Regions from separate parts of the Homo sapiens genome. Here region 1 is linked to region 2. The links are contacts of gene promoters, found by promoter capture Hi-C in blood cells and fetal thymus (Javierre and others, 2016). All regions are on one chromosome and are shown on one strand. The core of a region is centred on a gene start or on the middle of the fragment in contact, and the rest is flanking DNA. Distances in the headings are between cores, read along the strand shown. Region 1 overlaps LOC157273 (a long non-coding RNA gene). Region 2 holds the start of PPP1R3B (protein phosphatase 1 regulatory subunit 3B).

Region 1 (4,675 bases), core at 1,478-3,977, 180 kb after region 2:
TCGCACAAAGTGCTCTTCACAAGCGGTTGTGGTGCAGAAAGCAGCAGTGAACGGGAGCGCTTTCCCCTTTGTACTGGGGAGAGCTAGGTTTTCCTGGTCTGGCCCCTTTGGGGTTTTGGTTCCTAGGCTTCTGACTCTAAAGACACTCCTGAGTTCTCTTTGTAAAGCAAAAAGACAGCTGATTTCTGAAATCACATGATACATTTTAAGTAATTCAATCCCAAACTGCGTTTGAATAAGAAACCATCCTCCAGCTTCAAGCTTTCCCTCCATCAGCATTACTTTTTATTCAAGATAAAAATGTCCTCCTGGCTTCCCCTCCCTCTACTAGAATTCTCGGTCACTTTCAAAAGCCCCATTTTACTTTGTTTGTTTGTTTGCTTGTTTTATTTTGTTTTGTTTAGAGACAGAGTCTCGCTCTGTTGCTCACACTGGAGTGCAGTGGTACCATCTTGGCTCACTGCAACCGCCACCTCCCTAGTTCAAGTGATTCTGCTGCCTTGGCCTCTGGAGTAGCTGGGATTACAGGCACGCCACACCCGGCTAATTTTTGTATTTTTAGTAGAGATACGGGTCTCCCCATGTTGTCCAGGCTGGTCTTGAACTCCTGATCTCAAGTGATCCGCCCACCTTGGCTTCCCAAAGTGCTGGGATTACAGGCATAAGCCACCACGCCTGGCCCATTTTACTTTAAATAATATAATTTCTTCTATTCTTCCAGGCGTTCACCTGGCTCCTAGGGCTTTTGTGCTGTAGGCCTATATTTCCAGCTACTTTTGGAAAAAATCTCTCTGGAGGCTCAATGAGCTTGTCACATCAGCCTGCCCAGAGGTAAAGCACATTTCTCTGCCCTCACACGCCTCTCCCTTGCTGTCTTTAACTTAATCAATGCCCGTAACACCCTCTACAATGCTGAGCAAGCTCAGATCCTCCTAGTCTTCATGGCATCCTTCTTTTTCTTTTTCCATTGGTCTAATCTGATTGAATTTAAATTTTGCACATTTTGCATGAGTAATTCTCTTGCATGAATCTCTTTCTCTTCCTCCCTTCTGCCATCACTGGCTCTTGTCCTCTCTTTACTGGACTGTAGAATAATCTCTTTGGTGGTCTTCCTGTGGTCTTCCCTTCCCCTCCACTAAATCTACTCTCTATTCAGTATCAAGAAAGACTTAATCAGCAGTGAATACTCTCCACCAAGCCCTTGACCCATTGTCAGTCTCTGGCATCAGATCCTTTCCAGTAGGGCAAAGTGCAACTGCAGCCAGCTCATGCCTTCAAGAGAAGGACTGAAGATCATTGTGTGCCTAAACCAAGTAAGTCTAACTGCTCCTTCACCAGCTCACCCAAAACTATAGGGGCCTTCTACAGTCACGTTCCCATAGCTCTGGGAATTCCTCCAGACTTGAACTCTGGTTTGGCTTCCCCAGTTTATATCCTATGCTTCATACCAAGGTCTTCCCACTTTGCCTATCCTACAAGAAGTAGTGGCCAGGTTGGACTTTCTGATAAGTTTGGAGATTGCTTCTTGGCTGACCCTTGGTACCTTGTTCTACTAGCCACAGCTAAGCTCCACAAAGCCTAGGTGAGTGGGACACTGCAACCCAGCCCAGACCCAACACTATGACCTTCTACCAGTTGAGCATGGGATCAAGATGAGACTTCTAGTGCCAATACTAAAGACTATGAGGTTTGCAAGGTGAAGTTCACTGTCAACCTCTTATAGTCCATAACAAATATTTCTAGTTTGTTCACTCATTGAGTCATCCAACAAGTATTTATAGAGCAACCGTCAAGTGCCATATACATTCCATGGTGTTAGGGATATAGCAGGGAAAATGTCAGACAAGGTTTCTACTCATAGAATCCATATTCTACTATTGGAGGAAAAGAGATAGCACATATAGCATCAGTCATTGTCAATGATCTTAAATGTCTGAAGACAATTAGCTTTATAAGATGTAAGTGACTGAGAGGGAAGGGCTATTTTAGACAAAATGCTCAAGGAATTAGCTCTGGGAATATGATGTTTAAACAGAGATCTGAATGACAAGAAGAAGCCAGCATGCCAATGTTGGTGGGCAGAGTATACTGGGTAGAGAGACCAGCACAAGTACAAAACTCTAAAGTGGGAATGAACCTGGATGAGTCTGAAGGATGGGAAAAAGAATCATGTGGCTGGATTTGATGAGCAAAGAGGTGAATAAGAGGAAAAATTAAGTCAAACAGGAAGACACAGACTAGATCATGTAAGGCCTTGGTAAGTGATATGGTTTGGCTGTGTCCCCACCCAAATCTCATCTTGAATTGTAGTTCCCATAATTCCCACTGTTGTGGGAGGGACCCAGTGGGAGATAATTGAATCATGGGGGTGATTACCCCATGCTGCTGTTCTCATGACAGTGAGCGAGTTTTCACGAGATCTGATGGTTTTATAAGTTTTATAAGGGGTTTTCCCCCCTTTTGCTCGGCACTTCTCTCTTGCCTGCCACCATGTAAGACATACCTTTGCTTCTCCTTCTCCTTCTGCCATGATTGTGAGGCCTCCCACCCATGTAGAACTGTGAGTCCATTAAACCTCTTTTCCCTTATAAATTACCCAGTCTCAGATATGTCTTTCTTAGCAGCATGAGAACAAACTAATACAGTAAATTTGCATAAGACATTTGCCCTTCCCTTTGAAAGCAATGGGAAGCCATGCTCTGCATACTCAGAATAAGAGTGAGATTGGAAACCATGGTGATTGAAGACCTATTGGGAGTGAAGACTTGAGCCTTGAAGGAGAGAGTGACTGCAAAGTTTCTCAGATATCTGCAACTGGGGATGATATCTGGATGGGATGCCTGGGCCCTGGGGTTAGTGAGGAGTTCAAAGAAGAAGGAGCAGAAATGGATTCAGGAGAGAGTGAGCAGAGACTCAATGTTCTGTAAGTAAGTGCTCCTACAGGGGAAGGGTTAGAGAGGTCGGTAGAGGGGCCCAGGATTCCGGGAAGCTGGAGATTCCAGCTCTAAGACATGCTATTGTAGCCTCAAGACAGATGCACAATTATAGGTTGCAACAGTGGAGTGATTTTGAAGAAGCAAAAATACTCAGTGCAATGGACTGAATGTTAGTGTCCTTCCAAAATTCATATGTTGAAACCCTAATCTACTATGTGTTAGGATTAGGAGGTAAAGCCATTGGGAGGTAATGAGGGTGGAGTTCTCAGGAATAGGATTGGTGCTCTTATCAACAGAACCCCAGATAGCTCTCTCGCCCTCACTCCACCACATGAGGATACAAGAAGTCTGCAGTGTGCAATCTGGAAAGGGCCCTCAACAGAACCCGACCATGCTGACACTTTGATCTTGGACTTCCAGGCTCCAGAACTGGGAGAAATAAACTTCTGTTGTTTGCATGTCACCCAGTCTATGGGGTACTTTGTTGTGGCAGCCCAAATGGGCCAAAACACCCACATTCATCACTAGCAGGCCCTGGACATATTATCCTATTGATTCTCAGCTCCGCTCTCTTGCACCGTGGGCACCCTAAAACAAGACACATATGTAAAAATACATGTAAACATGGCACCCTGATATGTACGCAGGGTGGGCCCCAGATGTGCCTAGCATGCTAACAGTATAAATCCTGGCCTCAGGCAAACGGCCTTCTTGACCTTCCAAAGGACTAATAAGCAGCCCTCCCTTGAGAAGGCCTTTCTCCTTTCATGATTGTTCCTTTTCTTGCATGGTAGATTTTACCTTTGCTAATATGCAGTGGTTAAAAAAAAGAAAAAAAGGAAAGGAAAAAAAGCAACCCTACCAAATAGAAGGGACTTTGAAAGTGTGAAGACTGCTCAGTTCTCTGACAAGCCCTGCTGCCTGAGTCCCCAGTGGGGCACTGGAATAAAATTAGGACTGTATGAAGGATGAATGGGTCGTCTGTCTCCTGCAGAGCCCTGCCGTGTGGACAGGGCCAGAGTCATCACTTGGTGCATAAGCTGGAATAGAGCGCCTTTCATTCAGAGTTCCCAGGACACTTCACAGCTGCTAAAATGATCCTAAGCAAATATTTGTAGCCACACAATACAGGTGGGAATATGGAGGTACCAAGAAGAAAAAGGATTGGCCAAAACCCCCAGAGTCAACTCCAGAGGTAGGACCAGAAGCCAGGACCTGAGCCAGTTCAGGGCTCTGTCGGCAGGATCAGGCCTGGGAAAGGAGGGTGGGATTTCGTGACTAAGAAGAGTGGTGATCAAACAAATTTGGGGGGTCCACAGTAACAGCTGGCTGTGAGCCCACTGCTTCCTAATCCAGTGCCACTCAGGCAAGTGTGTTCGGTGCCTTGGTGACCTGCAGCTCTAAGTGGCTAGAGAGCTTTAATAATTCAAGGCCTCTGATTAGACTGACAGTGTCTGTCCGAGGGAGATGTGCTGTTGAGTGTTTTCTGTGTTCCAGACAAATTCACTTACAGTTTCAATTAAGCCCATTTCTTGTATACTGGGGCCCAAAAGGCAAACGCACAAAACGGGCATGTGATTGTGCTGCCAAGACAAGGGTGAGCACAAGATAGTCTGCCTACCAGAGGCTGTAGGCTGGAGTCCAGGTTGAGACTTGAAGTCAAGATAAAAAAGCGTGCTTGAATATGGTCTTTCAGGGTGGAGACTGCCACATTCTTGTCACTATTGATCTTCAAATAA
Region 2 (4,933 bases), core at 40-2,539:
GGCGGGCGCCTGTAGTCCCAGCTACTCAGGAGGCCGAGGCAGGAGAATGGCGTGAACCCGGGAGGCGGAGCTTACAATGAGCCAGAGATGGCGCCACTGCACTCCAGCCTGGGCGACAGAGCGACACTCCGTCTCAAAACAAACAAACAAAACCAAACAAACAAAAAAATCAGATGCACAAGCAACCCACCAGGAACACTGAAAGCTGCCGAACTGCATTCAGTAAACATTCACAACCAGGTTATAATTTTCATTTTTAAAGACATGGCCATCTACCTCCCTCCAACAATTCTGTGTTCCCTTCCAAAAGGTTTCACTGATCCAGCATGAAGAGAGTGCATGTCTTTCCCCTTTGTACTCAGACCATGGGGGCCTATTCACAGCCTTAAAGGCTCCTTGTACCCCTTGATCCTGTCCCCATCATCCAAAGCATCTTGGAGACTGACATTTGTGAATACAGTTGCATATTCTAGGAAAGAGGCAAGTTCAAATGACACAGCCCCTGCCGTCTAAAAACGTACGAGGGAAAACAGAGTACTAGGCTAAGAATGCCCGCACCTTGCTTTGCTACTTGAGCGAGTCACTCAGCTGCTCTGGGCTTGAGGTCCCCTCCAAGGTCCCTGCTGGCCCTGACATTGTATGTTGCGACCCACCCCTGGTGCCGCTTCTCTTCCCACTAACTTTTTTTCCTAAATACCTCAACTGTACTTTTGTGTAAGTCCTCCAGCTGTCTTCACTTTAGTTTTGGCTCCTGGACAACTCTGCCCAAGGAAACATTTCCTCCTCTCCTCCTCTTCCTCCCAGACCAAAGCTCTAATTGTCTCTTCTGCTGCACCCTGGGTCTCCCAGGCAGGCCCCCGCCACTCAGACCACAGGTTCCAACACCTTCCAAGTCTCCAAGTTCCCAAGTCCAGTCTTTCCTCTGTTTTCTCCTCTTTTTCAGAAAACAGTGCTCTGACAGGCCCCAAATCTTCCAGTAAGTCATTACCGGCCCCCACTCCCTCTTTTGCAGCTACTGTGCCTTCCACACCCCTTTTTCTGGATTCCAAAGAGACGCAGGAGCAGGCCAGTGCTCTCCAGGCTGGAGGATCCCACAAGTTACTCTCCGACTCTGTCCCCTCCGTCCAGTTTGACCAGGGCTGCACTCCGCCCCCAACCTCCCTACAAGCCTCCTTGGCCTCGCGCCGCACCCACCTTTTGGGCCGCGGAGAAGCCCCCTCCCCAGCTCGCTCGCCGCATCGGAGAGCCCGCAGGGTTGTGGCAAGCGCGACTACGTGAGCGTCGGTGTGTCCGGGAGGCAGGGCCTGGGCTGGGTTCCCGGAGATGTCGGCGGTGGGAGGAAGACGACGAGGAGGAGGAGCCCGTTATCGCACCCGGGCGGGGCCGGCAAAGGGGCAACCCCGGCCGGAGCAAGCAGCGCGACACCAGCACCCCCGCGCGGCCGCCTGGCCTCCGCCAGCCCGGGACGGGGATCGTGCTAGGTCCCGTCGCCCTCGGTGGCCTGAGAGCCTACCAAGTGTATTTCCTCGCGTTTTATAGGGAAAATAAGGCCCGGAGAGAGACGAAGCGGCTTGTCCTTAAGCTCCAAACCCCACTACCCAACTTTGGAGAAGTCTCCAGACCTCTCGGGACCCGGGGCTGGGAACTTGTGCTAGTTTCGAAGCCAGAACAACAGGTGGTAAAGGGATCAGCCGCCGCAGCCGCAGCTCCCGGGTCACGGTCGCAGCCGGGCCCAGCAGCGCGGTGGAGCACGTGGGCCCGGGAGGCGCTTCCCAGCTGCGGTCCCTGGATCGCCCTCTCCACGCTGAAGCAACAGCTCCCTGGGGCCAGCTACCTAGAGTGTTCCAGCCCCGGTGTGCCAGTGCAAGTCGCACGGTGAAAATGTAGGTGACAGGAACCCAAAGAGGTCCCCGCTGCACGCCCTCGCCTTGTTGTCCCCAGCCCTTCCCTCGGACTCGAGACTTGGGGAGCTACGTACCGGGTTCAGCTCATAAGTCCCGAGGGCAGACGCGCCAGCCCGCGGCAGCATACGCCCTGGGGGAACAGGGACAGCTGCCGTGACGGCAGGAGCTGGGCCCGGGCTCGGGTTCGCGCCCCCCGCGGGCGGCGAAGTCCGTCCGTGCACGAGAGCTGCGCGGTCACCTCCTCCCTCCAGCAGTCACCCGGGACTCGAGCTCCCCGCGGCCGCGCTGCCCCCTTTAACTTTCCTGCCAGCTCTCGGGACCCCGGGGTCCATCCCAGGCCCCCTGCCACGTGAACGCCCCCCGCAGCCAATGGGCGCGCCCGGGACTCCAGCCGCCGACCAATGGGCGCGCAGCCACGGCGCTGGGGAGCACCGCTTCGCCACGTGATCGGCAGCGCGCCCGGAGTGATCCGGCTGCGGGCCAGGGTCTGGGAAGGGGGTGGTGGGTCGCCGTTTCATCAGAAGCCGGAGGACGGGCGCCAGGGGGCAACTTCCTACAGGAGGGCGTCCCGTTAGAATGACAGGGCTTTTGCAAAAGTCTGACACCCGTGGCACAGAGCGCCCCAGATATGGAGGGTTTCACAGGTAGGTATACTTCAGAAGAAATTTCCTGACTTGAATCGGTTATAATCGCTATCTAAATCTACAGGGCCTCCGCGATGCATATTATGCACCTTGAGATCTATAGAAAATGGTCTTAGAAAAAGAAAAAAATGATGACCTTAAAGAGTTTGAATCAGAGGCTCTTCCTTTCTTCAGTTTACATGTAACTTGATCTGAACTAGCCACTTTAGGCATGAGGCTACCAGTTTTCTAATTTTAATGACCAGTAGAGTTTTAGAAAAAAATTAGAAATTGATATAGGATTGCCAACTTTTTAAACTGCCAAGAAAGACATGAAAATAAACCCTGCTGTCTTCTATTACTATCCTTTTATTTTTATTTTTTAAAGTACACTTTAATAGCAATAACAACGAAATGCAGGAAGGATGTAATGGCCAGTCTTTCCCATTGGATATATTTAGCTTTCTGAAAACTCATTATGTTGAATATGGCATTTGGGAGTTTCTACTGTAAGGGATACAGGCTCAGCTTCAATTTTACTAGGAATGCAAGCCTAAAACAGTGATCGGTGACAATAATCCAATACAAGCCTTTAGCTCTATAGAGAGCTTCCCCGGAGGGAGTCCTGGTGTCTGAAGAATGATCATTAATCTTCTTCCTTCTTTTCTGATGGGCAGATCTGATAAGGGACCACTTGTGAAGTCAGCTATTGGTAGGTGGTTGGCAAATAGCGTTTCTGTGCAATATTCCCTCTGCCAACTTTAAACCCTCTCTTGTTAGGTGATGAGTAGGTTGAAGATTTTTAAGCCAAGTACTGGCTAAGTTTCTCAGGTGTAGTGAGCATGCTGGAGGAGTGGGCAAAGATGAAGAGCCAAGAGGTATTGCAAAACATATGCAGGCAAAGGGTAATCCGAACCACACCGGGAAAGAGTTGGGACAAGTAAATACAGCTTTGTAGCATTAGGGTTTGGGAGCATTTTTCTTGCATAGATCTAGGAAACCATGGTCAATAATTTCCCCTGTGGTTTAGATGACTTTTTCAGACCAGGAGAGAGGGGTTAAACTTAGTTGTGGTACACCACAGCCTTAGTAGGTAGGAGGGTGTCATCTATGAGTTTGAAAAGAGCACAGTCTTTGCCATCAGGATAGAGCTGAGATGCAAGCTCAGAGGAGGGCTTTACCAGGAGACCCAGCAGTGCAGAGCTCCAGAGCCTGAGAGCTGGACCCACCCTCAGACACGATCTTGCCTCACCCTCTCATTTTATGGCAACAAAGAGAGAAAGTGAAAATGGAAAATTTCAATGCTTACTGCATCAGTCAATGCACACCAAGTTCTTTCTATTATATCTGGCATTGGGTTACAGCTTTAATTTTATTTAACAACCCTCCTCCCCCAACCAAAAAAAAAAAAAAAAATGAAACCAGAAAACAGCAGTGGCTAAGCATAGTAAATTATTATTCTTCCATAAACTGTTCTTTTTCTTTTTTTTTAATTTATTTATTTATTTTTTTAATTTATTTATTTTTTATTGATAATTCTTGGGTGTTTCTCACAGAGGGGGATTTGGCAGGGTCATAGGACAATAGTGGAGGGAAGGTCAGCAGATAAACAAGTGAACAAAGGTCTCTGGTTTTCCTAGGCAGAGGACCCTGCGGCCTTCCGCAGTGTTTGTGTCCCTGGGTACTTGAGATTAGGGAGTGGCGATGACTCTTAACGAGCATGCTGCCTTCAAGCATCTGTTTAACAAAGCACATCTTGCACCGCCCTTAATCCATTTAACCCTGAGTGGACACAGCACATGTTTCAGAGAGCACAGGGTTGGGGGTAAGGTCACAGATCAACAGGATCCCACGGCAGAAGAAGTTTTCTTAGTACAGAACAAAATGAGAAGTCTCCCATGTCTACTTCTTTCCACACAGACACGGCAGCCATCCGATTTCTCAATCTTTTCCCCACCTTTCCCGCCTTTCTATTCCACAAAGCCGCCATTGTCATCCTGGCCCGTTCTCAATGAGCTGTTGGGCACACCTCCCAGACGGGGTGGTGGCCGGGCAGAGGGGCTCCTCACTTCCCAGTAGGGGCGGCCGGGCAGAGGTGCCCCTCACCTCCCGGACGGGGCGGCTGCCGGGAGGAGACGCTCCTCACTTCCCAGACTGGGTGGCTGTCGGGCGGAGAGGCTCCTCACTTCTCAGACGGGGCGGCTGCCGGGCGGAGGGGCTCCTCACTTCTCAGACGGGGCGGTTGCCAGGCAGAGGGGCTCCTCACTTCTCAGACGGGGCAGCCGGGCAGAGATGCTCCTCACCTCCCAGACAGGGTCGCAGCCGGGCAGAGGTGCTCCTCACATCCCAGACGGGGCGGCGGGGCAGAGGCGCTCCCCACATCTCAGACGATGGGCGGCAGGGCAG

What was found. Contacts are between HindIII fragments. The CHiCAGO score rates a contact against its expected background, and 5 or more counts as called.
Region 1: a contact is called between a fragment that was not itself captured here and the fragment with the promoter of PPP1R3B in region 2, in 1 of 17 cell types (M2 macrophages). The highest score is 5.1, in M2 macrophages.

Annotation. Positions count from the first base shown.
Region 1 is chr8:9,331,683-9,336,357 of GRCh38, forward strand. It overlaps LOC157273 (a long non-coding RNA gene), which reads left to right. Exons shown (of 3, transcript NR_040039.1): 3 at 722-3,398. Among named protein-coding and RNA genes, the nearest start is that of PPP1R3B-DT, 180 kb to the left of the region's middle. The HindIII fragment of the contact is 4,936 bases long and covers 260-4,675 here.
Region 2 is chr8:9,149,369-9,154,301 of GRCh38, forward strand. It overlaps PPP1R3B (protein phosphatase 1 regulatory subunit 3B), which reads right to left and starts at 1,290. Exons shown (of 2, transcript NM_024607.4): 1 at 1,195-1,290. It overlaps PPP1R3B-DT (PPP1R3B divergent transcript), which reads left to right and starts at 2,357. Exons shown (of 5, transcript NR_183348.1): 1 at 2,357-2,548. RefSeq lists enhancers at 690-1,638, 1,685-1,924 and silencers at 1,275-1,544, 2,045-2,294. The HindIII fragment of the contact is 22,346 bases long and covers 1-4,933 here.